Regions from separate parts of the Homo sapiens genome. Here regions 2, 3 and 4 are each linked to region 1. Evidence: promoter capture Hi-C in 16 types of primary human blood cells and fetal thymus (Javierre and others, 2016). All regions are on one chromosome and are shown on one strand. The core of a region is centred on a gene start or on the middle of the fragment in contact, and the rest is flanking DNA. Distances in the headings are between cores, read along the strand shown. Region 1 holds the start of TOX2 (TOX high mobility group box family member 2). Region 2 has its middle 9.0 kb from the start of GTSF1L. Region 3 has its middle 87 kb from the start of JPH2. Region 4 overlaps TOX2 (TOX high mobility group box family member 2).

Region 1 (2,540 bases), core at 27-2,526:
CGAAAACCCGCGCTTGGCTCCAGCCGGCCCGGGACCGACGCACCGACTGGCGGACGCGCGGACAGTCTGGCTTCCTAACTAAGTTTGAAAGTTCCCTCTCCGGCGACCGAAGGGGACGCGGACTGCTTAGAGGCACCCAACCCATCCAGGCTGGGCCAGACCCGGCAGTGGGACCTGACGCCTCGGGTTCGGGGTTCCAGGCACGCAAGCCTCCATCACTGGGAATGCGCCCGGCGCAGCGCAGCTGGGACCTGGCTGGGGTGGGGGGATAGATCCTGGAAACATGGAGGAGGGAGGGTGTCCGGCACTACAGCCCCAGCCTGGAGGGACGCCGGCTCACCGCTCCCGGGAGGACACAGGCCTCGATTGGCCGCAGCCTACTCGGAATCCGAGGCCCCGCCAGGCAGTGACGGCCAATTAGTAAACTGCCCAATTAGTGTGCTGCGGCGCTGAGAAGTTAAACCTCGACGCGCGAGTGTGGATGACCGAGGTGTGGCCGTCCCTGGGTGTGACCGCGTGTGACTGTGTGGCCGTCAGGACGATCTGTGTCTGAGGCTCACCGTCCAGGGGGGTGGCTGTGTGTGACAGCGTGCGCCTGGGTGAGGCGTTGTGGCTGCGAGAGTGTGACTGTCGGGCGACTTCTTTGTGTGACTGTCCCCCGTTGTGCCTGGGTGTGACAGCGGGTGGGGGCATGTCACGGTGTGTGGGGCATCGGAGCGTCTGTGGGTGACTCGTCTGTGGCGGTGAGGCTGTTTGCGGGTGAGTGGTTGCGTGTCGTTGTGTATAAGTGACTGTCAGGGTGACTTGCGTGGGACGGCGGGACCGTGTAAGCAGTGCCTGGCCGCCTGCGTGTGGCTGTGGGTCACTGTGACGGCTTGTGAATGACTGCGAGGCTGTCAGGGGGACGCGAGTGAGGGGCCACTGTGTCGTCGCACGGGTGGCTGTCGGGATGACTTCTGCCCGCGATCCCAACAACTCAGGGCGTGAGCGTGGCCGCGAGGGGATCGATGTGAGCCGCCCGTGCCCGTCGGCGGGGCTGATGTGCGCGGCCCCGTGTGACCCCGGGAGCGCCTGAGTCCCGAGCTGCCAGGTGACTCCGGCCCCGCCCGCCGGGGACCCCCGCCCGCCCCCGCCTACCTTGCCGCCGTGGTAATAGTCCAGGTGCGCCAGGCCGGCCGGCTCGGCCCCGGGCCGCGCGCCCACCGCGGGCGCCGAGGGGTACAGGCGGACGTCCATGGCGGGCGCGGCGGCGGCGGCGGCGGCTCCCGCGGGCAGTGCCTGGGCGGGCGGCGGGTGGGAGCCAGTGTGCGAGCGGGACTGCGAGCGCGGGGGGCGGGCCGGGGGCGGTGCCCAGAGGAGCGCCCCGCCCCCGCCCCCGCCCCGCCCGCGCGCGCTATTGTTCCGGCCTCGGGCGCTGCCTAGGGCCGGGGGCCCGGGGGCCCGGGCCGGGGCGTGGAGGTCCTTCCTCCGGGCTGGGCCGCCGCCGGGTCCCCCGCCCGGCCCTGCATCCCTGAGGGGGGCGCGCCTGTCCAGACGGCGCTTTTCCGTCCCGCCTTTCGCCACCCACGGTGAGGAGAGAAGCCCGAACGGCACCCCTCCCCAGAAGTGGGACACTCCCTTGCCCTAAATATTTGAGGCGGCGCTAGTCCCCGCCCCGCGGCGTGGGTGCGGGGGGAAGAGGAAGGTGGTGACAGGACCACTTTGGAGATGGGTGCTGCCTTACCTGGGGGGACGCAGGCCAGCGCCGGAGGATGCTCTTAGCATGCCCGCCCCCTCCTCGTCTCACTGATCTGAGTCAGCTTGACAGCCCCCCCTGGAGATTGCCGCGCTTAAACTCTCACTCACATATGGGGAAACTGAGTCAAAAACTTGCAGCATCAGTAATGGAGCTCCAGGCGGGTGGGCTCCGTTGCCCCCAAAGGATCCAGAGCTGAAACCACTTGGAGAAGGCAGCAGGACCCCACCCCTTTTAATGATAGGGAGGGGAGGGCCGCAGGAATGCCTAGAGCCCGAAGCTCTGAAGAGGGGTCTAGGATCTGCCCACAGTCACGGTCTCTTGGAGTGAGGAAAGGAAGAAAATGAGATTGGAATGGGATGGCTCTGATGGTGGGTCAGAAAGGTGACTGTGAAATGGGGTTCCTCCCCAACCAAAAAAAAAAAAAAAACCCTCTAGTTCTTGATATCACTTGCTGGTTGCTAGACTGTTGCACCCCCATCCCCCTTTTCATGCAAGAATTGTCTACACTAGCAATCTCCCCTAGCAATCTCACTGCTCACTGACTGCTCCAGGTATGTCTGACTGGGAGAGGCCAGGAGGCGAAGTCAGCCAGAATGGCATTCTTGTGTGGCACCAGGATATAGGATGCCATTGGGAGAAAAGGACTTGAGCTTCCTGCCCACTCAGGAGCTAGCTTAGAACTTAGTTCTCAACTGCTGCTTGGGCTTTGCTGGTCCTGGCCTAGAACTAGGACCATAAGAAAGATGCATTAACAAAAGATAGGTGTGGGAAACAGGCATTCACTGAAGGCTTGGGAACAACA
Region 2 (2,540 bases), core at 24-2,523, 200 kb after region 1:
GATCAATCCTCATGACCAAGTTCCCCAAACTCCTGATCAAACAGCAGCTGGGCCCCCAGCACCTCCTGAGTGGCAACCAATCTGCCTTCCCATGTGGGCTCTCCCTGTCCCCATGATGGCCAGGAGCTGTCAAATCTGACTCCTCCCCACTTTCTCTGAGCAGATGACTGGCCTCACGGTACCCCCTGCTTTACTTCAAAGTTCCCTCTGGCACATTTTATATCAATTGGTTGGTTTATATCTGTCTGCTTTTTAGAATTTAAGCTCCATGGCCGGGCGCAGTGGCTCACGCCTGTAATTCCAGCACTTTCGAAGGCTGAGGCACGCGGATCACAAGGTCAGGAGATCGAGACCATCCTGGCTAACACGGTGAAACCTTGTCTCTACTAAAAATGCAAAAAAAAAATTAGCCGGGCATGGTGGTGGGTGCCTGTAGTCCCAGCTACTCGGGAGGCTGAGGCAGGAGAATGGTGTGAACCCAGGAAGCGAAGCATGCAATGAGCCAAGATCGCACCACTGCACTCCAGCCTGGGCAACAGAGCAAGACTCCATCTCAAAAAAAAAAAAAAAAAAAAGAATTTAAGCTCCATGAGAATAAGGTAGTTTTTTGGTTTTTGTCTTTTGAGATAGGGTCTTGCTTTGTCACTCAGGCCGGAGTAGAGAGGCACAACCACAGCTCAAGAGATCCTCCCACCTCAGCTTCCTGAGTAGCTGGGACTACAGGCATGAGCCATCATGCTATCATGCTAAGTTTTTAAAATTTTTTGTAGAGATGGGGTTTCACCATGTTGCCCAGGCTGGTCTCAAACTCCTGGGCTCAAGTGATCCTCCCACCTCAGCCTCCTAAAGTACTAAATTACAGGCATGAGCCACCACACCTGGCCTGGTTTCTATCCTTTACTGCTATATCTTCAGCACTACAACTATGCCAGACATGTGGGGGTAGGGTTGGAGGGTCCCTCAATAAATGTGGTTTTGTTTTTGTTTTTGAGACAGTGTCTCCCTCTGGTTGCCCAGGCTGGAGTGCAGTGGAATGATCTCAGCTCACTGCAGCCTCGACCTCCTGGGCTCAGGTGATTCTCCCACCTCAGCCTCTCGAGGAGCTGGGACTAAAGGCACATGCCACCATGCCCAGCTAATTTTTTCTATTTTTTTTTTAGTAGACAGAGGGTTTCATGATGCTGCCCAAGCTTATCTCAAACTCCTAGACTCAAGCAATTTGGCCTCCTCGGCCTCCCAAAGTGTTGGGATTACAGGCGTGAGCCACCATACCCGGCCTAGTATTTATTTAATGCATGAACCAAAGAACAAGCCCACAGCACACAGAGCTCAGTGAGGATGGTATGTTAAGCTTGCTGTTACCTGCAGCCACTCTGTTCTTTACAGCCTCCTCCCTCCAGGACAGGAAAGGGCCTGAGGGCAGTCCCTGGGAATGAGCAAGACCTCAGGCAAGAGAGGGCATGGGGTACAAGCCCCTGGAGCCTCACAGGCGTCAGCTCAGAGTGTAGCCAGTCAACGCCCTGCATGTGAATAACCCACTGGTGGTTTGTTAAAAATCCCTTTTTGCAGGCTCCACCCCAGGTACCTGACTCAGAGGGCCCAGGAATTTTCATCATTAGCCTGCAGCGCACTGCATTTGAGTTTGACAAAGTTGTTCCACCGAGTCTTGGTGTGAGCTATAGGAGACAAGGTAATGCAGCCTCCATCCTCACCGTGGGGCACAGGTCATCCACCTTGGGTGACCAAGGACTGTAGGGAGCGGCCAGTGACAGACCTTGGGGAAGAAGTTGGGGAGGGGATAGGCTCCATGCTGACAAATCACAAAAGCTCAGGGCGTGAGTTAGGTGTGGTTCATCCATGGAACCTGCAGGTGCATGCAGCCCAGCCACATGGGCTGCGGGGTGCGGGGTGCAGGGTGGGAAGCACAGAGCCCCCGCCCCTCCTCGGCTTTAGATCAAGAACTGGGACACTGCCAGGACCAAGCACGGCATGCCTGCATGTGAATGGACAGGAGTAGGGGGACTGTAGGCGGGAGCTCAGCAGGGAGAAAGGGGTGTGTCTGAGGCCAGACACATCTGAACTCTGGCACCCTAATTAACTCAGTCCCCATCCCTCTAGAGTTGGCCGCATCTCTTGCCCCAGGTGAGGACCTGCCCCAAGTCTGCTCAACCTCTGCCCACAGGGATGTTCATGTGCCTGTCCCATGAAGCCTGCTGCTGAAAACATCAATTCCTCATTTAGACATTCTCAGACTTGGCATCTTCCCCTCTTCAATCCCCAGTGACTCTTCCCAACCACCTGCCAAGCACTGTGCTCTGTAGCCACAACCCTAGGGATTTAGGGCCACAAGGGCAGAGGCTCTGGCCCATCCTGGCCTCCTGCTCAGCCTTGGCCAATGGGGCTAGAGGGTTCTGCCCAGCTGCCTTCACCCCTCTTCCTTGCTTACTGGTCTGACCTGGGGGCCACGCTCAGCTTGAGGCAGGGGCTTGTTAATGGGCAGGTGAGCCACCCAAGGCAAGGGCCAGGCAAGGCCCTACTGC
Region 3 (2,540 bases), core at 13-2,512, 190 kb before region 1:
ACCAGCAGTGTATAAGTATTCTCTTTTCTCTGCAACCTCTCCAGCATCTGTTATTTTTTGACTTTTTAATAATAACCATTCTGATTGGTGTGAAATGGTATCTCATTGTGGTTTTGATTTACATTTCTCTAGTGATTAGTAATGGTGAGCATTTTTTCATATGCTTGCTGGCCATGTGTATGTCTTCTTTTGAAAAATGTTCATATCTTTTGCCCACTTTTTAACGGGGTTGTTTTTTGCTTGTTAATTTGTTTAAGTTCCGTATAGTTTCTGGATATTAGACTTTTGTTGGAGGTATAGTTTGCAGATATTTTCTCCCATTCTGTAGGTTTTCCATTTACTCTGTTGACAATATCTTTTTGCTGTACAGAGCTCTTTAGTTTGATTAGGTCCCATTTGTCAATTTCTGTTTTTGTTGCAATTGTTTTTGGAGTCTTCAACATGAAATCTTTGCGAGAAGCTATGTACAGAATGATATTTCCCAGGTTATCTTCCTGGGTTTTTATAGTTTTAGGTTTTACATTTAAGTCTTTAATCCATCTTGAGTTGATTTTTGTATACAGTGTAAGAAAGGGGTCCAGTTTCAATCTTTTGCATACGATTAGTCAGTTATTCCAGCACCATTTATTCAATAGGGAGTCCTTTCCCCATTACTTATTCTTTTAGTTTTGTGAGTAAACTCTTCTTTTCTTTCCCTCTGAAGTCTTGTCAGATTTTCTCCTAAGATTCAGTCTTCAGAATTTAAACAGAGCATGTGTCTAAGGTGAGTTCTTTAGGAATTAATCCAGTCCTGGAAACAACGTGCTCTTTCGGTGTCAAAATTTGAGACTTCCGGCCAGGTGCAGTGGCTCGTGCCTCTAATCCCAGCACTTTGGGAGGTGGGCAGATCACTTGAGGTCAGGAGTTCGAGACCAGCCTGACCAACATTGTGAAACCCTATCTCTACTAAAAATGTGAAAATTAGCCAGGTGCGGTGGCATATTACAGGTGGTGCACCTGTAAACCCAGCTACTTGGAAATCTGAGGCAGAAGTGCTTGAACCTGGAGGCAGAGGTTGCAGTGAACCGAGATTGCACCACTGCACTCCAGCCTGGGTAACAGAGCAAGACCCTGTCTCAAAAAAAAAAAAAAAAAAATCAGTCTTCAGCTCATTGAACTTATCCTCTCAAATAGGATTAATTGTCCAACTCTTCTAATTCTGTATTTCCCTGCAGCCTGGATTCTCGTGGGGTGTTTTGCACCTGCCTCCTAAATGTCCTCCCTTCCCCTGGTCTACCTGTTCTTTCATCCCTATGAGGAGATGTCCTATCACTTACTATACCATGATTCCCATTTATTCCAGTCCAACTATTGGATATTTCTTTTAATTTTTCAAACATTTTACTTCCAGAAAGTCATCAAACCCAAATTGCATTTTCTTGAAAGTTCTTATTTATTTGTTATTAAAGTTTTCTCATCTCTTCCACTAACTCTTTCACCTTCTTTAGGAGTTAATTGTACAAATTGCCTTTCTTTTTCCTTTTGCTTTTTTATGCCAGGGTAGTTAATAGTGGAGGTAGTGAAAACCAACCACTTAAAAACTAACAAGCAGACACTAAGTCTTTTAAATGCATGATAACATGTAATCCTATCAACGATATAATTAGACAGACACTATCATCATCCCTATTATGCAGATGAGGAAACTGGTGGCCAGAAAATTTACATGATTTACCCCGAGTAATTTACCGTGACTCCAGGGCCCACCCTTTTAACCTCCACCCTCCATCCTCTATCTCTTGGTGGTAGAGAGGGTAATTACCTCCTCTCGTAACTATTTTCCTTTGCTATTCCTGGCCACTAGGTTCTCTGAGCTTTCTTATAGGTCACGACATAAAAGTGTTGATCAGGGCAAACTAGCAGCGAGCAGAACGCCCTGTGAGTGCTTATCTAACAAGCTGGCAACTTGCAAATATATCTAATATTCAGGAAAACTTTGTAGCTGCATTTAAAAACTCTCCCAGCTGCAGAGATTTGAGTCCTGCCTGCTTCAGGTCCATGGTATTGAGCCAAATAACGCCACACTCAGCAGACAGAAGACAGCCCTTTGTGAATATCAGAGGCTGGCAAAACATGGCTGGTGGGCAAAATCTGGCCCGATGTCTGATTTGTTTTTTTTTTTGGTCTTTGAGCTAAGAACAGTTTTTACATATGTATGTATGTATGTATGTATGTATGTATGTATGTATGTATGTATTTTTGAAACAGAGTATCACTCTGTCACCCAGGCTGGAGTGCAGTGGTGGGATCTTGGCTCACTGCAACCTCCAGCTCCCGGGTTCAAGCACTTCTCCTGCCCCAGCCTCCTGAGTAGCTGGGATCACAGGCATGAGTCATCATGCCCAGATAATTTTTGTATTTTTAGTAAAGACAGGGTTTCACCATGTTGGCCAGGCTGGTCTCGAACTCCTGGCCTCAAGTGATCCGCCCACCTTGGCCTCCCAAAGTACTGGGGTTAAAGGCATGAGCCACCATGCCCAGCTGGTTTTTACTGTTTTAAA
Region 4 (2,540 bases), core at 20-2,519, 140 kb before region 1:
GGTAAACTATGTCAGAGGGAAGATCTGGGACTCAAGGCTGCTATTCAGATTCTCCTGTCCCTTGGGGTTCTCCCCCTTCCCCTAGGGATGTGGTTTCCTGAGAGCCCTGCTGCAGTGATTGTTATTTCTCTTCTGGATCTAGCCACCCAGCGGAGCTACCGGGCTCTGGGCTAGTACTGGGGAGTGTCTGCAAAGAGTCCTGTGATGTGATCTGTCTTCAGGTCTCTCCTCCATGGATATCAACACCTGGTCCAGTGGAAGTAGCAGGGGAGTGAAGTGGACTCCATGAGGGTCCTTGGTTGTATTTTTAAGTGCACTGGTTTTGTGTTGGTTGGCCTCTAGCCAGGAGGTAGCACTTTCTAGAGCACATCAGCTGCAGTAGTATAGGGAGGATACAAGCTTGCCCTAGTGTCAGGTGGTGGGCGGGGCCATGGAGTTCCCAAGAGAGATTATGTCCTTTGTCTTAGGCTAACAGGGCAGGTAGAGAAAGACCATCAGGTAGGGGCAGGGTTAGGTGGGGCTTGCTGCAGATGCTGTGGGGGTTGTGGTTCCCAGAGGGATTATGGCTGACTGCTGCATCACACAGGTTGTCAGGGAAGTGAGGGAAAGCTGGCAGCCACAGGCTGGTCTCACTCCCACCATGCACCCCCAACAGCACCGAGTTTATTTCCAGGCAGCTAGTGAACAGGGCTGAGAACTTGCCCCAGGCTACAGGCCTCCCAGCTGAGAAAGCACGCCAACTCACAATTCCTTGGCTGTCCCAGAGAGCCTGCAGCAGCAATCCACATCCTTCAAAGTGTCTGTGGATTCTTTTGGCTTTCCTAGTATGTTCCTGTGGTAGTTCTTGGAGCAAAAGTTCACAATGTGAGTCTCCGTGCTCTGTCTGTCCGAGTGGGAGCTGCAAGTTAGTCCTGCCTCCTTCCTGCCATTTTTCTGCTCTAAAACTGCTCTTGGAACTCTGACTTGCTATGTGAATAAGCATGAGCTAGTCTGCTGGATGATGAAAGACACATGGCCCAGTTTGGCTCCACTGCTCCAGCTGACAGCCATCCAACTCCCAGAAGCAGAGATGCCTAATTTACTGTAGTTGACCACTGATGCAAATGGGTGAGCCCAGCCAAGAGCAGCAGCAGAACCATCCTGCTGAGCCCAGCACAGTTCATGGACCCTCAGAATCATAAGTTGAATAAATGATTATTGTTTTAAGCCATTAAATTTTGGTATTGTTTATTACACATTCAAAATTAAATGATGCAGTTAGCTTCATTATGTTTTAGTGTCAAGGTTACATTGTATATAAAGACTTGTGAAGGTTTTCTTATTTTTCTAAGTCTTGGAATTATTAGCTCTTTGATGATTTGAAAGAACTTTCCTATCCATCACCTAGGCTTGAAACTTTTGGGGGATAGGCAAGGTTTTTTTATTTCCTATTATTTTCTCACTACCTCTCTTGGTTATTAGTGTATTAATAGTAAAATAGGAATATAAGTCACATTTCTAAATGTGATTTCAAAAACTGACACAAGCTAACATCCAGCCTTATGCTTAATAGTGAAACATGAGAGGTAATGCAAAGTAAGAAGACCACTATCCCCGCCATTGCTGAACATCTCTTTTTTAGAAGTCCTAGTCAACATAACTGGGAAAAGAAAACAGAATTAGAAATCTGAGAAGTGAGGAGACAAAATAAGGAGATATGGCTGGATATAGTGGCTCATGCCTCTAATCCCAGCACTTTGGGAGGCCAAGGTGGGATGATCATTTGAGGCTAAGAGTTTGTCAGCCTGAGCAACACAGCAAGACCCTGTCTCTACAAAATACCAAAAAAAAGAAAAAATTTTGTGGGGCATGGTGATGCATGGCACGCCTGTAGTCCAGCTACTTGGGAAGCTGAGCTGGGAAAATTGCTTGAGCCCAGGAGTTCAAGGCTGCAGTGAGCTATGATCATGCCACTGACCTCTAGCCTGGGTGACAGAGTGACACCCTGTCTCTTAAAAAACAAATAACAAAGGAGACAAAATTATCATTTGTAAAAGATACATATGTATAAATATGTGTATAATTATAGACACTTTTTTTAAACCTAGAAGACTCAGGAATTAAAAATGATCAGAAATGATAAAATAAATAGTAAGCTTGGCAGTTACAAATTAAATTCCTAACTTTTTATACTCAACAATTTGCTAGGAAAATGGGGAGAAACAAGCCATTTATAACGCATTAAGTAAAAGAACGCATTAAGTAAAAGGAGAGAAATGCCCATTATCGGATGGAAATAAATATATGCCAAGTTCTTGGGTTAGAAATAAAACGTCAGACAGGTAAGCAGAAATGAAACCGACACAGGGGCTGGGACTCTCAACCACCTTTGCTTGCCTCTGGGCTGCGCTGAATGAGGTCAGAGAAAGCATCGGTGGAGGGAGTGCCCGGGGACATAGGACTTGAGACCACTGTCTCCCCAGACTGTATAAAACGGCAAGGAAATCCCCCCACCAAACAAAAACAACCTGAAGTCTTTTGAAAGGGAATTGGTTGCCAAC

What was found. Contacts are between HindIII fragments. The CHiCAGO score rates a contact against its expected background, and 5 or more counts as called.
Region 2: a contact is called between a fragment that was not itself captured here and the fragment with the promoter of TOX2 in region 1, in 4 of 17 cell types (neutrophils, total CD8 T cells, endothelial precursors and 1 more). The highest score is 6.3, in neutrophils.
Region 3: a fragment that was not itself captured here is called in contact with the fragment with the promoter of TOX2 in region 1 in 1 of 17 cell types (naive CD8 T cells); the score reaches 5.2 in naive CD8 T cells.
Region 4: a contact is called between a fragment that was not itself captured here and the fragment with the promoter of TOX2 in region 1, in 8 of 17 cell types (activated CD4 T cells, M0 macrophages, endothelial precursors and 5 more). The highest score is 8.0, in activated CD4 T cells.

The regions. Positions count from the first base shown.
Region 1 is chr20:43,913,588-43,916,127 of GRCh38, reverse strand. TOX2 (TOX high mobility group box family member 2) reads right to left here and starts at 1,276. Exons shown (of 9, transcript NM_001098797.2): 1 at 1,138-1,276. The coding sequence starts at 1,236. RefSeq lists enhancers at 104-821, 822-1,539 and silencers at 1,036-1,125, 1,176-1,285, 1,306-1,405, 1,506-1,625. The HindIII fragment of the contact is 9,025 bases long and covers 1-2,540 here.
Region 2 is chr20:43,716,776-43,719,315 of GRCh38, reverse strand. No RefSeq gene overlaps it. Among named protein-coding and RNA genes, the nearest start is that of GTSF1L, 9.0 kb to the left of the region's middle. The HindIII fragment of the contact is 161 bases long and covers 1,193-1,353 here.
Region 3 is chr20:44,099,274-44,101,813 of GRCh38, reverse strand. No RefSeq gene overlaps it. Among named protein-coding and RNA genes, the nearest start is that of JPH2, 87 kb to the left of the region's middle. The HindIII fragment of the contact is 3,805 bases long and covers 1-2,540 here.
Region 4 is chr20:44,056,379-44,058,918 of GRCh38, reverse strand. All of the region lies in intron 5 of TOX2 (TOX high mobility group box family member 2), which reads right to left. Among named protein-coding and RNA genes, the nearest start is that of JPH2, 130 kb to the left of the region's middle. The HindIII fragment of the contact is 1,736 bases long and covers 402-2,137 here.